Regions from separate parts of the Homo sapiens genome. Here regions 1, 2, 3 and 4 are each linked to region 5. Evidence: promoter capture Hi-C in 16 types of primary human blood cells and fetal thymus (Javierre and others, 2016). All regions are on one chromosome and are shown on one strand. The core of a region is centred on a gene start or on the middle of the fragment in contact, and the rest is flanking DNA. Distances in the headings are between cores, read along the strand shown.

The links. The method cuts DNA at HindIII sites, captures the fragments that hold promoters and counts their contacts. A CHiCAGO score of 5 or more calls a contact.
Region 1: a fragment that was not itself captured here is called in contact with the fragment with the promoter of CLCN1 in region 5 in 1 of 17 cell types (M0 macrophages); the score reaches 6.0 in M0 macrophages.
Region 2: a contact is called between a fragment that was not itself captured here and the fragment with the promoter of CLCN1 in region 5, in 3 of 17 cell types (M0 macrophages, M2 macrophages and M1 macrophages). The highest score is 6.5, in M0 macrophages.
Region 3: a contact is called between a fragment that was not itself captured here and the fragment with the promoter of CLCN1 in region 5, in 1 of 17 cell types (M0 macrophages). The highest score is 5.1, in M0 macrophages.
Region 4: a contact is called between a fragment that was not itself captured here and the fragment with the promoter of CLCN1 in region 5, in 3 of 17 cell types (M0 macrophages, M1 macrophages and M2 macrophages). The highest score is 11.4, in M0 macrophages.

Annotation. Positions count from the first base shown.
Region 1 is chr7:143,516,289-143,518,988 of GRCh38, forward strand. It overlaps EPHA1-AS1 (EPHA1 antisense RNA 1), which reads left to right. Exons shown (of 5, transcript NR_033897.1): 4 at 1,994-2,229; 5 at 2,643-2,700. Among named protein-coding and RNA genes, the nearest start is that of TAS2R41, 40 kb to the left of the region's middle. The HindIII fragment of the contact is 321 bases long and covers 1,291-1,611 here.
Region 2 is chr7:143,481,713-143,484,593 of GRCh38, forward strand. All of the region lies in intron 2 of EPHA1-AS1 (EPHA1 antisense RNA 1), which reads left to right. Among named protein-coding and RNA genes, the nearest start is that of TAS2R41, 5.3 kb to the left of the region's middle. The HindIII fragment of the contact is 986 bases long and covers 1,063-2,048 here.
Region 3 is chr7:143,457,682-143,460,563 of GRCh38, forward strand. All of the region lies in intron 2 of EPHA1-AS1 (EPHA1 antisense RNA 1), which reads left to right. Among named protein-coding and RNA genes, the nearest start is that of TAS2R60, 16 kb to the left of the region's middle. The HindIII fragment of the contact is 4,169 bases long and covers 1-2,882 here.
Region 4 is chr7:143,499,773-143,502,472 of GRCh38, forward strand. The region is part of intron 2 of EPHA1-AS1 (EPHA1 antisense RNA 1); the gene reads left to right. Among named protein-coding and RNA genes, the nearest start is that of TAS2R41, 23 kb to the left of the region's middle. The HindIII fragment of the contact is 963 bases long and covers 869-1,831 here.
Region 5 is chr7:143,314,833-143,317,532 of GRCh38, forward strand. It overlaps CLCN1 (chloride voltage-gated channel 1), which reads left to right and starts at 1,279. Exons shown (of 23, transcript NM_000083.3): 1 at 1,279-1,560. The coding sequence starts at 1,381. The HindIII fragment of the contact is 3,265 bases long and covers 1-2,095 here.

The DNA.
Region 1 (2,700 bases), core at 201-2,700, 200 kb after region 5:
ACCATGGAACTCTCCATAAGCGTGCTGTTTCAGGGGATTACCTAGTGCCTTTTCTCTTTCTGAGGTGCAAGAAGTAAAGTGAGTGTATATCTGGGTGTGGGAACCTTATGAGGAGATGAGTAGACATAGATGTAGGGAAGTCTGTCTATCTGTCTGTCTGTCTTCTATCTATCCACCTATTTCTATCTTTCCACTTATTTTCCCTCCTGCACTTCCTACTGTCTTTCTGAGACTGTACAAGCTATGGAAGAAGACATCACTAGATTAAAATCCTGGCTTAATCACTTATGTGCCATATTGACTTTGGTTGATGTACTCAATTTCCATGATCCTCAGTCTCTACATCTAAATGGAGATAATGATGCCTAATTCATAGGGTTGCTGTGAGAATCAGGCATATTATAAAGAAAGCCCATTACATAGTACCAGGCATGAAGAAGCTAACAAAAGGTGGTTTCTAATCATTTCATTTGACTACTCTGTCTTCTACAATGTCATGTCAGTCTTTGTGCTCCCTCTGCATAGCAGCCGACAACTGCAATTACTGTAATGCCTCCTTTCCCTACATCATACAGGCCTTTTTCTTGGTTTATGACAGATAACTTGAAAATAATTAATTTACATATATTTGCATTATATATGTTAAATTTAAATTTATTTTATAAAAGAAAACTCATTTACTATTCTTCTTGTTTTTTTTTTGCTGTCATGCAAACTTCCACATTTTTTAGTGTTTTTTTTTTTCCTCATCAATTTGGTAATTCCTTTACTGAAAGGAGGTAAATGTCATCTCTGGATTTATCAACTTCACTGTGTTGTCCCTCCCCAACCTTTTATGATCTCAGCCTCCATCGCTGGGATATGTGTTATTTGCCTGCATGGTGTTTCTGTCTTGTGAGCCAGTTCCTTTTACATGATAAAGCCGCCTACTGAATCTGTGATGACTAAATTTGGTATGAGATCTTGTCAAGGTCTTTTGAAAGTCTAAATAAAAGAAACCCTCTGTTAGTTTCTTGTTGGCTTCTTTCTCTCTCAAAAGCATTTAACTATTAACAGATTCAATAGGGAATGTTTTCCTTACACAAACATTCTTGCTTTTCCCCCTTTATGGTGTTTTCTGAAGTGTTTAGTGATCCTGCACGTTATACAAATGAGATATCCTGGGTAGCTGTGGCATCAGCCCTGGAGCCCTTCTTTAACATGATGGTTACATGGGCAGTCTTTTAGTCTGCTAGTTCTGGGTCAGTATGCGACCTTTGTTTTTGCCTTTTGACCAACACGTTCCCCTCAAGCTTCCTGACAAGTCATAATTACCAGTCTCGGCAACATGTGCACCTGTGTTTAGACCTCCTGAATAGTTGCCACTGCCAGTTCTCTTTTCTGCAGAAGTCAATGATGGGATCAGGGCTTTGAGGAAAGCATCATTTCAGGCTCCCTGGTCTCTTTTATTTTCATCTGGAGAGGAGCTTTGAACCAGGAAAATCTAGGAGTCCTGCTGATATTAGAGCTGACTTTGATGCTTAAAAAAAAAAAAAATTCCTTACTTCAATGAGGCAGTACCCGTTTTAACTAATGTCTGTAACTCAGGCTTCTGCCAGAGGACGAGGGATAAGCTTCAAAAATGAGCACTTGAATGTTCCACATCAAAATTATCTGGTGGAGGGACTGTCCCAGTTCTGGTGCTGTGAAGGTCAACTTCATCACACATAGATGCATGATATTGTACTTTCACATTTTGAAAACGACCCTAGGCCTGAGGATTAGTTACTTTATCTACTTGAGAAATATTAGCATTTAATAGGGAAGCTAGTTTGTTTTCAAAATTTGTTTCTAAAAATAACTATCATTTTCCATGAAGTTGATTTTAGTAGACTTGAACATACTTTAAACTTCTAAACATCATTTTGTGCTACAAAACAGCAAGTGATCTCCCTCGAAAACCCAGCAAGACCCTCCTTCTAAAAGATGTTTTTCTGTTTCTTGCTGGCCATAGATGAGAGCTGGAATGAAGTACCAGGGCAAGGGAGCTGCCTGGATGAGGAAACCAAGGCTATCTCAGTACTGCCAAGGTGTTTTCATCATTCATCAAAATGCAAAAGTAAACACTGGTGAGAAAAACGATGTTGATCTCCCAGGCAAGCCACTTTCCAGGAGTGTGGCTGATTATTTTCAAATGCTGCATCGGAAAGTTGCAGGCCCCTTGGAAAATCTGTCACCCCTGAGAGTGATGTGAGTGATTTTGGCTTCGGGGGCTCTTTCCAACGGGATCATTTCCCTGCCATCCAATTGCCTGCCTTAGTGTTTCCAGAATAGATCCCTGTGGTTGCTGAGAAAGAGCAATAAATGCCTAAATGATTCAGGAGGCCCGAGGCTGGGCTCTGAGGGGGGCCCAGTCTCATCAGTGGGGAGTCTCTTCAGTGGCGGATCCTGTTATTGATGTGGTCTGGGGCCTGGGGATTTTGTTCTTTGACCAAGACAAAGGAGTAATACATGGAGACTTTCCTTCCTAGGCTTTGTCTGAGGTCAAATATTTGTTCTCCCATGGAGCTGAAAAATAATCAAGGATATCATCTTCTTGAATATTCTCTATTCTGCTTCTAAGAGTTGAAGAAATAATATTTTCCTCAATTCTATTTTTACAGATTATTCTACAGAAACAACACATCACTGGATGCCTCTCACCATGCAATCCTCTGTGCA
Region 2 (2,881 bases), core at 306-2,805, 170 kb after region 5:
TCACAAGACCCATTTTCTTCCTGCGACATCCCACTGGGTGATCACTCATGGGCATGGGGAATGTGTCACAGTGGCTAGTGAGGGTAGCACAGGACAGGTTTAACTTATGGGTGGGGAGGAGGATGTCAACAAAGGCTTAGTGTTTGGGACGTCATTCCAGGGGGTCCAGTGGGAGGCCTTGGACTGACACCAGACTTTGTGGGAAACCAGGTTGAAGAGTGCTTGGCAATGTCCAGTGGCCTGGAGGTCCAGTTCACCAAATCAGTTTTCCTCTTTTAGTTTTATCTGCAAAAGGGAAACACCCACCCCATAGTTTTAGTAAGGGTATGAATCTCACACACCTGGACTTTCTACTTTTTCTGCAGCCAGGAGCTAGAGCTGGAAAAAAATCTCTACCAAGTCAGACTCCTTTGCTTCTCTTTTCTCACTTCTAACTAACTGAAAGGTAGAGAGGGCGTTTTCTCTTTTTATTGTATGTTTTTCTAGTTTCTAAACTGAGCCTGATATCTAGAGTTGGGGGACTAACTGACTGACTGAACATCACACTGAGTAGTGGCTTCTTAAAATTCATCCTCTCATCTAGGTGGTGGAGGAAGCCAAAGAACTATAATTTGTGAGGGAAACAGGGGTGGGAATCCTCAGAAAATCATTTCCCTTATTGGCCCCCACCTTATCTGTTCCCAGGGCTTGTATTCCTTTGTGCTGAGATCTCATTCTGAAAGAAGTGTCAGCCAGCACATTCTATAGAACATATATTTTAAAAGTTTATTCTTATTTTTATGAAAGTAGTAGAATCTTATTTTAAAAAATTATAAACAGTACACAAAAATTTAAGGAAAATAAAATGCCTCCATCCTTCTTCATTCTTCTCTCCATTATATATTTTACCAGAAGTAATCAATGTTAATATTAGGTCGGTAATATATAGTACAATCATCCATATATTGAAATATACTTTATGGGATTGTATACAATTTTTTTCATTTATGGTTCATGATTTTATGTGTACCTCAAGAAATCTTTGCCATCCTAAGATCACAAAGATTTTCTTGTTTTTCTAGAAGCTTTATGGTTTTACCTCTTACATTTAGGTTTCTTATCCATTTCATGTTAATTTTGTATATGAAGTGAGGTAAGGATTGAGGTTCATTTTCCCCCTTTATGAATATACAAATGTTTTAGCACTGTTTGTTGAAAAGACATACCACAAATTTTGACAGACAGTATTGTGTTTTAATTTTTATTTAGTTCAAAAGATTTTCCAATTTCCCTTTTCATTTTTGCTTTGGCCAATGGGTTAACCAAACAAGTAGTGTTTAATATCTAAATATTTGTGAGATCTTCCAGTTATCTTTCTGGCATTAATTTCAAATTTAATTCTATTGTGATTAGAGGACATAGTCTGCATGATTTCAGTCTTTTAAAATTTCTTGAGATTTGCTTCATGGCCCACTGGATTATCAGTCCTGATGAATGCTCCATGTGCACTTGAAATGGATGTGTATTCTGCTGACGTTGGATGGAGTGTTCTATAAATGTCAGCTAGGTCCTGTTGGTTGATAGCATTGTTCAAGTCTTCTATATCCTCTGTATCCTTACGGATTTTCTGTCTACTTGTTCATTTACTGAGAGGCAAGTGTTGAATTATTCTACTCGAATTGTGTATTTTTTTATTTTTAATTTTAGACAGAATCTGGCTCTGACATGTAGGCTATGGTGCGTGGCACAATCACAGCTCACTGCAACCTCTGCCCCCCAGGCTCAAGCAATCCTCCCACCTCAGCCTTTGGAGTAGCTGGGACCACAGGCACGCACCACCATGCTGGGCTAATTTTTTAATATTTTGTAGAGGCAGTGTCTCACTATGTTGCCCAGGCTGGTTTCGAACTCTTAAGCTCAAGAGATACACCTGCTTTGGCCTCCGAAAGTGCTGGGATCACAGGCATGAGCCATGGGGCCTGGCCTGATACCTTTTTAAATTTTTGTCCTTTTTTTGCTGCATATATTTTGAAGCTCTGCTGTTAGATGCTTATACATTCAGGAGGTCAAGCTTACTATTATTTTATTTTACAGTGCCTAAACTATTGTTAATTCCATCTAGTGAAATTTAAATTTTACGTATTTTATTTTTCATCTTTACAAGTCTTGTTTAGTTTCTTCTGTTTCTAGGCCTGTGTTTGTTGACCAATCTGTTCCAGGTTATGAATCTTATTTTCCTGATTTTTTAAGGTCTAGTAATTTTTTACTGAATGTTGTAAATTAGAAATCTTAAGTTATTTAATACTTGGTTTTGTTGTTTTCTATTGAAGCATTTTAGACTTTTTCTGACAGTTACTTGTAAATTAGTTTGATGCTTTTGATTTTTTTAAAAGCAAATTTAGGGTAGGTCTATGGTAGTCTTTTTCTAGGGCTACTAATTTTGCTCAACTTCTAAGACATAGCATCTTTGCAACTCATATGGAGTGCTTTGTATATTCAGTAATGTTTCTTCACTCTGGCCAAAGAGTGCTAAAATGAATCCTGGCCCCGTAGGAGTTCTGGGAATTGTTTGTTTTATAGCACTCCAGCATTTTTTCTTTCTTTGGAGATTGTTTTTTTCTCAGTCTTACAGGGTTTCACACTACTCACATACGGATTGGTGTTTAGCCAAGGACTCAAAGACTGATTTCTGGAACCATTTTCCTGTGTAGCTTATTTTTCCCTCTAATCTCCGCATCCTTCACTGAGCAAGATTTCCAGGTCTGTTTAAATTCTCTCTTTGTGCTACAATCTGGATATTGCCTCCTGGCAGAAAATCTGGGTGATTGTAAGAATCACCTCATTATTTTTCCTTCTCACAGTAATCACAGTTTTGTGCTGTTTTTTTCATATCTGAAAACAA
Region 3 (2,882 bases), core at 224-2,723, 140 kb after region 5:
ATGTCCATGAACCCTGTTCTCTTCTGGAGGGTCTACGTGGCAGAAGCTCTGGCTCTTTCACATCAAGAAGGATCTTAAATTCTGGAGCAATGGCTCATACCTATAATCCCAGCACTTTGAGAGGCTGATGCAGGCAGATCGCTTGAGTCCAGGAGTTCCAGGCTAGTCTGGGCAACATAGCAAAATCCCATCTCTACAAAAAGTACAATTAGCCAGGTGTGGTCGCATGCGCCTGTGGTCCCAGCTACTCAGGAGGCTGAGAAGGGAGGATTGCTTGAGCCCGGGGAGGTCAAGGCTGCAGTGAGCTGTGATCACACCACTGCACTCCAGTCTGGGTGACAGAGTGCAGTCCCTGTCCTAAAATCAACAGCATTCTCATTCGAGTAAAAAATAATTAAACCTTGAGATATTTTCCTCTGCTTTCCTATGCTCTCCATTCACATTTCTTTGCTGAGTTTAAACCTTGGATTCTAAATTCTGCTTAAGTTCTACTGTCTTATAGATAATCGGAAAAGTTAAGTGGTTTCCCAAGGAGGACTCTGCTCCTGGCCTGTTTGCTCCAGCTTGGTCTAGCCCTATGATTGTTGTCTTTGACTCCCTCCTTGACTTGCAGTATTGATCTACATTGGTCTGTGCTTGTTTCTGACATCATCATACTTTATGAACTAGCATGGTTTCGATTCCAGTTTCCCTGGACCAGCCCAGTCCTGCAGCAACCGGTAGTAACCCAGCTCTGAGAAGTAAAATTGCAAAAGCCTCAAAGAAACTTCCTTTCTTTTGCCGTGACTTGAAATTTGTAAATGGCTTTCCTGAACTTAGAGAATCCTGAGTCAGAACCCAGAAATTTGGAATAAGTTAGTCAAGTGCCCTAATCACAGCCAGATGCCCTTCTAATCACTAATTCCCAAGACCAAATGAGGGTCAAACACTTTCTTGCACCACCCCTGGCATTCTACTGTAGGCATCCTCCTCCTTGTCTTACACTAGCAGAGATTTGGGAAGGGGAGGCTATCAGGGTTCTAATTTTGGCCTTTATCTTCGAAATTAAAAGGCTTCCAAGGCATGAAATTGGTGATGAAAAGAGCTAAACCAGATGACACAACGACTCTTAAAGAATGTGTTAGTGTCTTGGAGTCAAGACCTAAGTTTAAGTGTTCATTCTCTTCTGCCTCTTATTTTGTGGCTTTGAGAAGTCATTACCCTTACAGGCCCTCATTTTTTATGTCTGTAGGATGGGAATGGGGGCTGAATTCCTCAGGTTATGATGGTGGTGGCAAGATGGTCCTGCTGGTACTAGTAGTGGCAACATGTGTTTGCAGGAAAAGGCAGGGCAGACATGCTGAAAGGTTTAATTGGATCAATTAGTCCAACACTCAATATTTATATAGACGATTTTCCAGAAGACAGCAGTAATTACGTCTTTAGAAGATTAATATACAACTCTGTGTAATGGTGAGACTTTAAATACTGTGACCGGTTCTGTCTTGCTCTGCCCTTCCTCCATCCAGATATCCTCCAAGCCAGATAAATCAGTTCTTAATAGCCTCAAATCTAGTCTTGCAGGTTAAGGCTAATGTGGAGATAGAGTTATTTAGAGTTCCTTAACAACATCTGTCTTAGTCTGTTCTTGCTGTTATGACAAAATACCTGAGACTGAGTTACTTATAAACAATAGTAATTTATATTTTCATAGTTCTGAGGCTGGGAAGTCTAGGATCAAGGCACTGGCAGATTCAGTGTCTGGTGAGGAACTGCTCTATCGATGGCATCCTCTCTTGGTGCCATTCTCACCTGGCAAAAGTGATGGAAGAGCAAAAAGGCAAAAGGCAAAAGGGCAAAAGGCATGTGGGCACTCCCTTCAATTTCTTTTGTAAGTGCACTGATCTGTTCATGAGGCTCCACCCTCAAGAATGGATTAGTGCTCTTATAAAATAGACTTAATCACTTCCCCAAAGGCCCAGTCTCTTAATGTGGTTGCATTGGCAATTAGGTTTCAACATGTGAATTTTGAGGGACACATTTAAACCACAGCAATATCACAAAGAATTCATTAGTTTTAAAACTTAAATATTATTTTTGATAATACATGATTATTGCAGAAAATATGGAAAACAGACTATTATTAAAAAGTTAAAAATCCCTCATGTTCACTATACGGAGATAATCATAGTTGGCACTCATGACTCCTTCCAGATGTATCTTCTCACCCTGAATTATGCTCATTGTACAAAAACATACAATGCCAATATATCAACCATAAAAACATACTTTTACAAAATTAGAATACTAAATTTATATTGTTTTTTTCATATATTGTGACTATTTCCTTTATCTATAATGACAGACACAAGGCCTTTCCAAAGTATAAAAGGATACTTTGAAATATAAAAATAGATGAAAAAGCATGAACAATATAAAATGATGAATAAGCAAAGGAATTCTTACCATTTCACATGAGGAATCATTAGTTTTCACCGATTGCAAACTTCTAGAATACCCAAATATAGAAAAGTATGAAACAGAACAAAAAATAAACCTTAGGAGTAAAATATGTGATTAAATTAGTTACTAAGCAGAATTTTATTCTAGGTCCTTCACAGCAATTTTAAATGGACCAGGATAAAATAGATTTGGTAATGTTGTTTCAGAATTATTCTACCTTAGTGATGTTTCCCTCTCCTAGGTCCAGCAGGATAGTCTGGACAGGGATAGAATCTGAATATTTTATTTCTGGCAAAATCTTTATGTCTTTGCTCGTTGTTTTCCTATCTATGTCATGACAACTCTTGTAAACATTCCATTTTTTTCTGTTCAAGGCAGAAATCATAGGCCAGTCCTATCAAAGGTTCTCAGTCAATACTATTCTGCATTATAGCATTATC
Region 4 (2,700 bases), core at 100-2,599, 190 kb after region 5:
TCTTTAGGGCCAAGCCCATATCAAGCTGGGGAAACCGTGAAGGGCCTTTTACAAAGAATCGAACAGGCTGCTTTAGAAAACTACTCCACATGCCTTCTGTTTAATGCTCACAATCTGATTATGTTGTAGCTGCTTGGTGCTGCGGTGTGCCCTATCCTGGCTGCATTTCTTCATTCCCTCCCCTGCCCACATACATCCACAGCCCCAGTCGGCTGTATCCATGAAGAGCTGAATGGAACAGGATGACTGGCAGCCCACGCCAAAGGCCAAGAGATGTGAAGGTAGAAGCAAGAAGTTAGAATGACCTGAGGAAGAGGTCACAAGCCCAGGAATGCCAGCAGCCACTAAAAGCTGAAAAAAGGCAAGGAAATGAGTTTTCCTCTGAAGCTGCCAGAAGGAACAAGCCCAGCCAATGCCTTGACCCTAGCCCAGTAAAATTGATTTTGAACTTCCGACTTCCAGAACTGTGAGAGAATACATTTACGTTGTTTTAAGCCACAAATATGTGGCAATTTGTTACAGCAGCAATGGGAAACTAACACAGATTCTAATCTCTTTTCTTACTCCCATCCCAGGTTGCCCTGGGGTTAATTCATGATTAAAGATCCTCCAGCTTTGTTCTCTATACTTTCTCTTGTCTTCTTGAGTCTGATCTCCTTCTTGCTCTCCAAGTGCTTCCCCCACTGCACATCAACAAGAACATTTCTGCTTCTTACCTGTCTCTGTCCCCTGCTCTAACCCATGAGGAGTCAGAAGCAGTCTAGTGGGGGCCAGGCAGGGGAGGGAGGTGAGGAAGCTAGGAAGGTTAGAGAAGAGAGAAGAAGCCAACATTCCCCACTTTAAGCTTTTGGGGTTGGGAGTCAGAAGAAGCTTTATCTTAAAACAAGGTTTAGAGGTTTGATTTTACCTTGGGCTGGATATTTTTAAGACTGCAGTGAGAATGTTTTGGGGACTTAAGGCGAATGAAAACGTTTTGATTTTTTGGGAGGAACTAGAACATTCATGCTACTTGTTATGGATTTAGTCCAAGGCACAGAGAAGGACTAGCCCCATAGTGCAGGTTTGAGTGTATGGAGATGAGAAAGAACACAGCACTTTTCTGATTACAGTTTGTGAATTCAGCTTGTTCAGTAAACCAGTTCCCCTTAGTTTCTACAATAGATTTGAGATCTTGTGGTCTGGGACCTGGGAATTCCATCGTGGCTGTGATATTTTCGCAAGATTTTCAAATCTTTTTCAGTATCACATGCACTCTGTGTAGCGGAGGTTGTTTCATCTACTTAGCCCACCAAGACCCCTCTGGAGGCTGCATAGCCTGGTGGCTAAAGGTGTAGGTTCTAGACCCTGAATGTGCAAGTCTGAATCTTTGTTCCTACCTTGTGCCTTTGCAGCAATGGGCAAGTTAAAGTCTCTACTGCCTCAGTTTCTTCTGATGTAAAATGGGGAGGATGGTAATACCTGACTCACGGGCTTTTGTGAAGATCAAATGAGACGATCCATGCAGAGCACTTAGCACAGTGTCCAGTCCATGATAAGCCCTCAGTGAATAGTAGATATTTTTATGTTGAAATGCTTTGAAGAGTTTAGAAGAAAGGTGCCAGTCAAGCCAATGCTAGAAACAGAGATTAATTTTTATTTCCTCACACATTTACTTCTATCCTGCTGTGCCTTGTAAACTGAACATTTTCATATTTTTCTCCTTCGCAAAATACAAACTGTTCCAACAGTTCTCTGCCTCAAACCTGAAGTGTTTTATGCCATCCTTGGTAGGTTGTGAGAGATATTTTGGAAGCACCTTTTTAGAAGCTCTGTTAATTGAAACTATTCCTCAAGCTTTGCAATAAATGCAGAAAGTTTCAGTGCTCCCTCACATCCTGGAAGCTGACTGTAGCCTGTAGAGGGCTACTGGGTTAAGCCCTCTACAAAGGTGACGATAGAGTCCAGTTCAGGAAGCCATCTTCTGGCCAGGTAGGGTGGACATGGGCACACTGGAGCCAGAGGGAGGTCAAAAGAGGGTAGTGAGTGTAGGGGCCAGAAATGATTATCCAAGAGTAAATTGAGGTCCAGAAGCTGTTCAGAGGCACAGGAGCCCTTTTTCATCTTGTCTTTGTTCCTGTTGATAGTGAATATACAGCAGCTGTCTTGAAGATGGAGAAGGAAAGTGAGGGGTGCTGACTGAGAAACTGCCTTACAGACCTCCTTCCTCTCTCCATCTACCTCTAAGTCAAATGAAAAGGAATCCAGTGAAATTCTCCCAGCTCCCTTAATAAAGATGACTCTCCAGCTCTCATCTTGCTAGGAGAATGTTCCACTTCTTTTTCCACAAATAAAAATAATTTATGTTTGTACAGTGCTTAATTTCAAGAAATTTCATAGATATTATTTCATTTGAGGAAGGAGAGAATTGGGGCTGGGTTAGGCCACACAAGCCTGGCTCAATGTCAAGTATTTCCTAAATGGAGACAGAGGTCTGACTCTAAGCTTTATATATGACACTGGTTAGATTTTAGAGTTTTTTAGTTTTTTGAGTTGTGGTGGGAGAAGCACTATAATCATTATTAATATAGCCACCATGAAACATAGATTTAAAATTCTGCTCTGCTAGTTTGAGGTAGCATTAAGATCAGTAGAATGATTTTGAAGGTTTCTGCTTATCAAAGAAATGTTTAAAGAAGAAGAAGTGTGGGTGTGGTGGCTCAC
Region 5 (2,700 bases), core at 29-2,528:
TTGCATTATGATTTTGGTTTCCTGATGATTAATGATGTTGAGGCCCTAGAAAAAGTACTTTTAATGATATTGGCTTCCCTCCTGCTTTGGGTGGTTCCATTTAGCCTAGGTCAAAATCACATTGTAGACCAGATGTTTGGTGTCCCTACCCTGCAGTCCCTGAACTTGGACTGTCCTGGGACAGACCCCACTTGGTAATGCATCCTAAACTTTACTTTGGCTCAGTTCATATCTTTTCTCCTACAGTGAAGAGTTCATAGGGAAGACATGTCATAGGAAAATTGGTTTTATAACGTGATGCCAGGAAGAAAAGTTTGTCCTTGGCCAAAAAAGTATTTATTGACCTGAAAAGGGAAGAATAGCAGAGAGCACTTCCCCATCATCTTTCATGTTTGTCGGGCTTGTCATGAGAAGCCCTCACCCCTTTCCCACCTCTCCCTTCCCTGTGCCTCTTTCTACTTTCGATTCTCCCCTGTTATCTCCCTTGTTATCTATCTGATGGAGCCAGTGTGGGCACTCCACAGTCCAAATGGAAGCTCAGTCCCTCCGGGTTGGCAGTGTGGCTGACACCTAACAGTCTGGGAAGTGGGAGAAATTCTAGAACCCAAGGCTATTACCGACCCTCGACTTCCCACTTCCCATAAGTGTTCCACACCCAGTGAGTGATAAGGATGGGATCAGGGGATGCCCCCAAGCTGTTATTAGCAGCCTCTGGCAGACAGAAGGGCAAAGAGCTAGAGAAGAACGCTGGACATGGGATGGGCTGGCAGAGCTGGCCAGACAGAACCCTGGGTGGACACAGAGTTGGGAACAAGCTGGCCAGGAGATGTGGCAGAGAGGCACCAGTTACTTTCCCAGGTGAGTTAATGTGCCAGTGTTTCCAGAACTTCGAGTCGCTTCATCTTTATCCAGCACCCACCCCTCACCTTCCGCATCCTGAAGAAGAGAGATGGGCAACTGGAGGGCTTCCATGCAGATCCGGCTCTACACATAGGTTTGAGAGCATACTCAGCAGTTTCTCATCCTGGTCCAGGCGATATTTATAGAGGGACCAGTGACATGGAGCTGGAAGCCTACTACTGGTGACTAAGAAGGGGGACAATGCCACTGGCTCAGCAGAGGGAATTCCCTGTGGGGCTGTCCCTCAGGTTCTCATCCCAACCCCCACCCCCACACTGCACTCACACCTGCTTCGACCCCAAGCAGATCAGATGTGGCAGTGGGGGGTCATGTGACGGAGAGGGGTCTATAAATAGCTGGAGGTGGGCATGCTGCCCCAGACGCCTTGGGGACAGCAAGAGCAGAGGCTTAAGGAGCTACACTGGGGGAAGGACAGGGGCAAGCAGGCCAAGGCCTGGCCGGGGCTCGGGGGGAGGGAATATGGAGCAATCCCGGTCACAGCAGCGTGGGGGTGAACAAAGCTGGTGGGGTAGTGACCCCCAGTACCAGTATATGCCCTTTGAACACTGCACCAGCTACGGACTGCCCTCTGAGAATGGGGGCCTCCAGCACAGGCTCCGGAAGGATGCAGGCCCCCGCCACAACGTCCACCCCACACAGGTAAAGTGCTCTAAGGGGAGAGGGGAGCCATGGATGAGGGGAGACAGTGGTGCCAGAGACTGGTGAAAATGAGGAATTGGGTGAAAAGAGGGAGCAGTGTTACATTTTTTTAACTTAAAAAACAAGTACGTGGTGATGTGTTCAAAATATGAAAATCTTTGAAAGTCTGGGCTCACTTAAGTATGCACTTAGAGAGATATGCATGCACTTTCATACAACCTTTACCAACAGAGTACCCAAATCATATGGGGAAACAGCAGAGCCTCACATGCATGAATAGCTCGTGCTTACATAACCTACGTGGAGTGGATTGCGTAGGAGCCCACACTGCAGTGTGCTGGGAGCTGTCTCCCACACCCTCACCCACAGGTAGACACTGCCAGATTTCTGCCTCTGGGACCCTCTGCAGAATACACACAAACATGAATCTTTCTGCAGAAGGCAGAAGAAAGGAATTGGGCAAGTGTAGAAAACAGACTGAATTGCTTATCAGTGATCAAAGATCTACCAACGTCAAAATGAGCAGAGATGTACAAGCTTTTAGGTCGCAAGATGATCAAGTAAGAACCTATTAAGTGTTAGGCACCTGGAAAAGGGCAGAGATGTGATCCCAGCAACAGAAGCATGCAGGCTAATTAGGAGTGTCTATGGATGAGCAGCCTCCCGCTGTGGGATTGGTGGGATATGAACACCTAGGAAAGGGGGAATGGGGATGGGCACAACTAAAGGAAAGGTTGTGAAATTGTCATGGAAAAAGATAGGTCATGGTTAATAAGTAAGTGTGCCTCTCCCTCCAAAGAATGCAGAGAATAACAGAGGATAGAATTTGTCTAGAGGGCAGTTGGCCAGAACTTTTTTTTTTTTTTTTTTTTTTGAGATGGAGTCTCGCTCTGTCTCCCAGGCTGGAGTGCAGTGGTGCTATCTTGGCTCACTGCGACCTCCGCCTCCCGGGTTCAAGCAATTCTCTTTCCTCAGCCTCCTGAGTAGCTGGGATTACAAGCACCTGCCACCATACCTGGCAAATTTTTGTACTTTCAGTAGAGACGGGGTTTTGCCATGTTGGCCAGGCTGTCTCGAACTCCTGACCTCAGGTAATTCACCCGCCTTGGCCTCCCAAAGTGCTGGAATTACAGGTGTTAA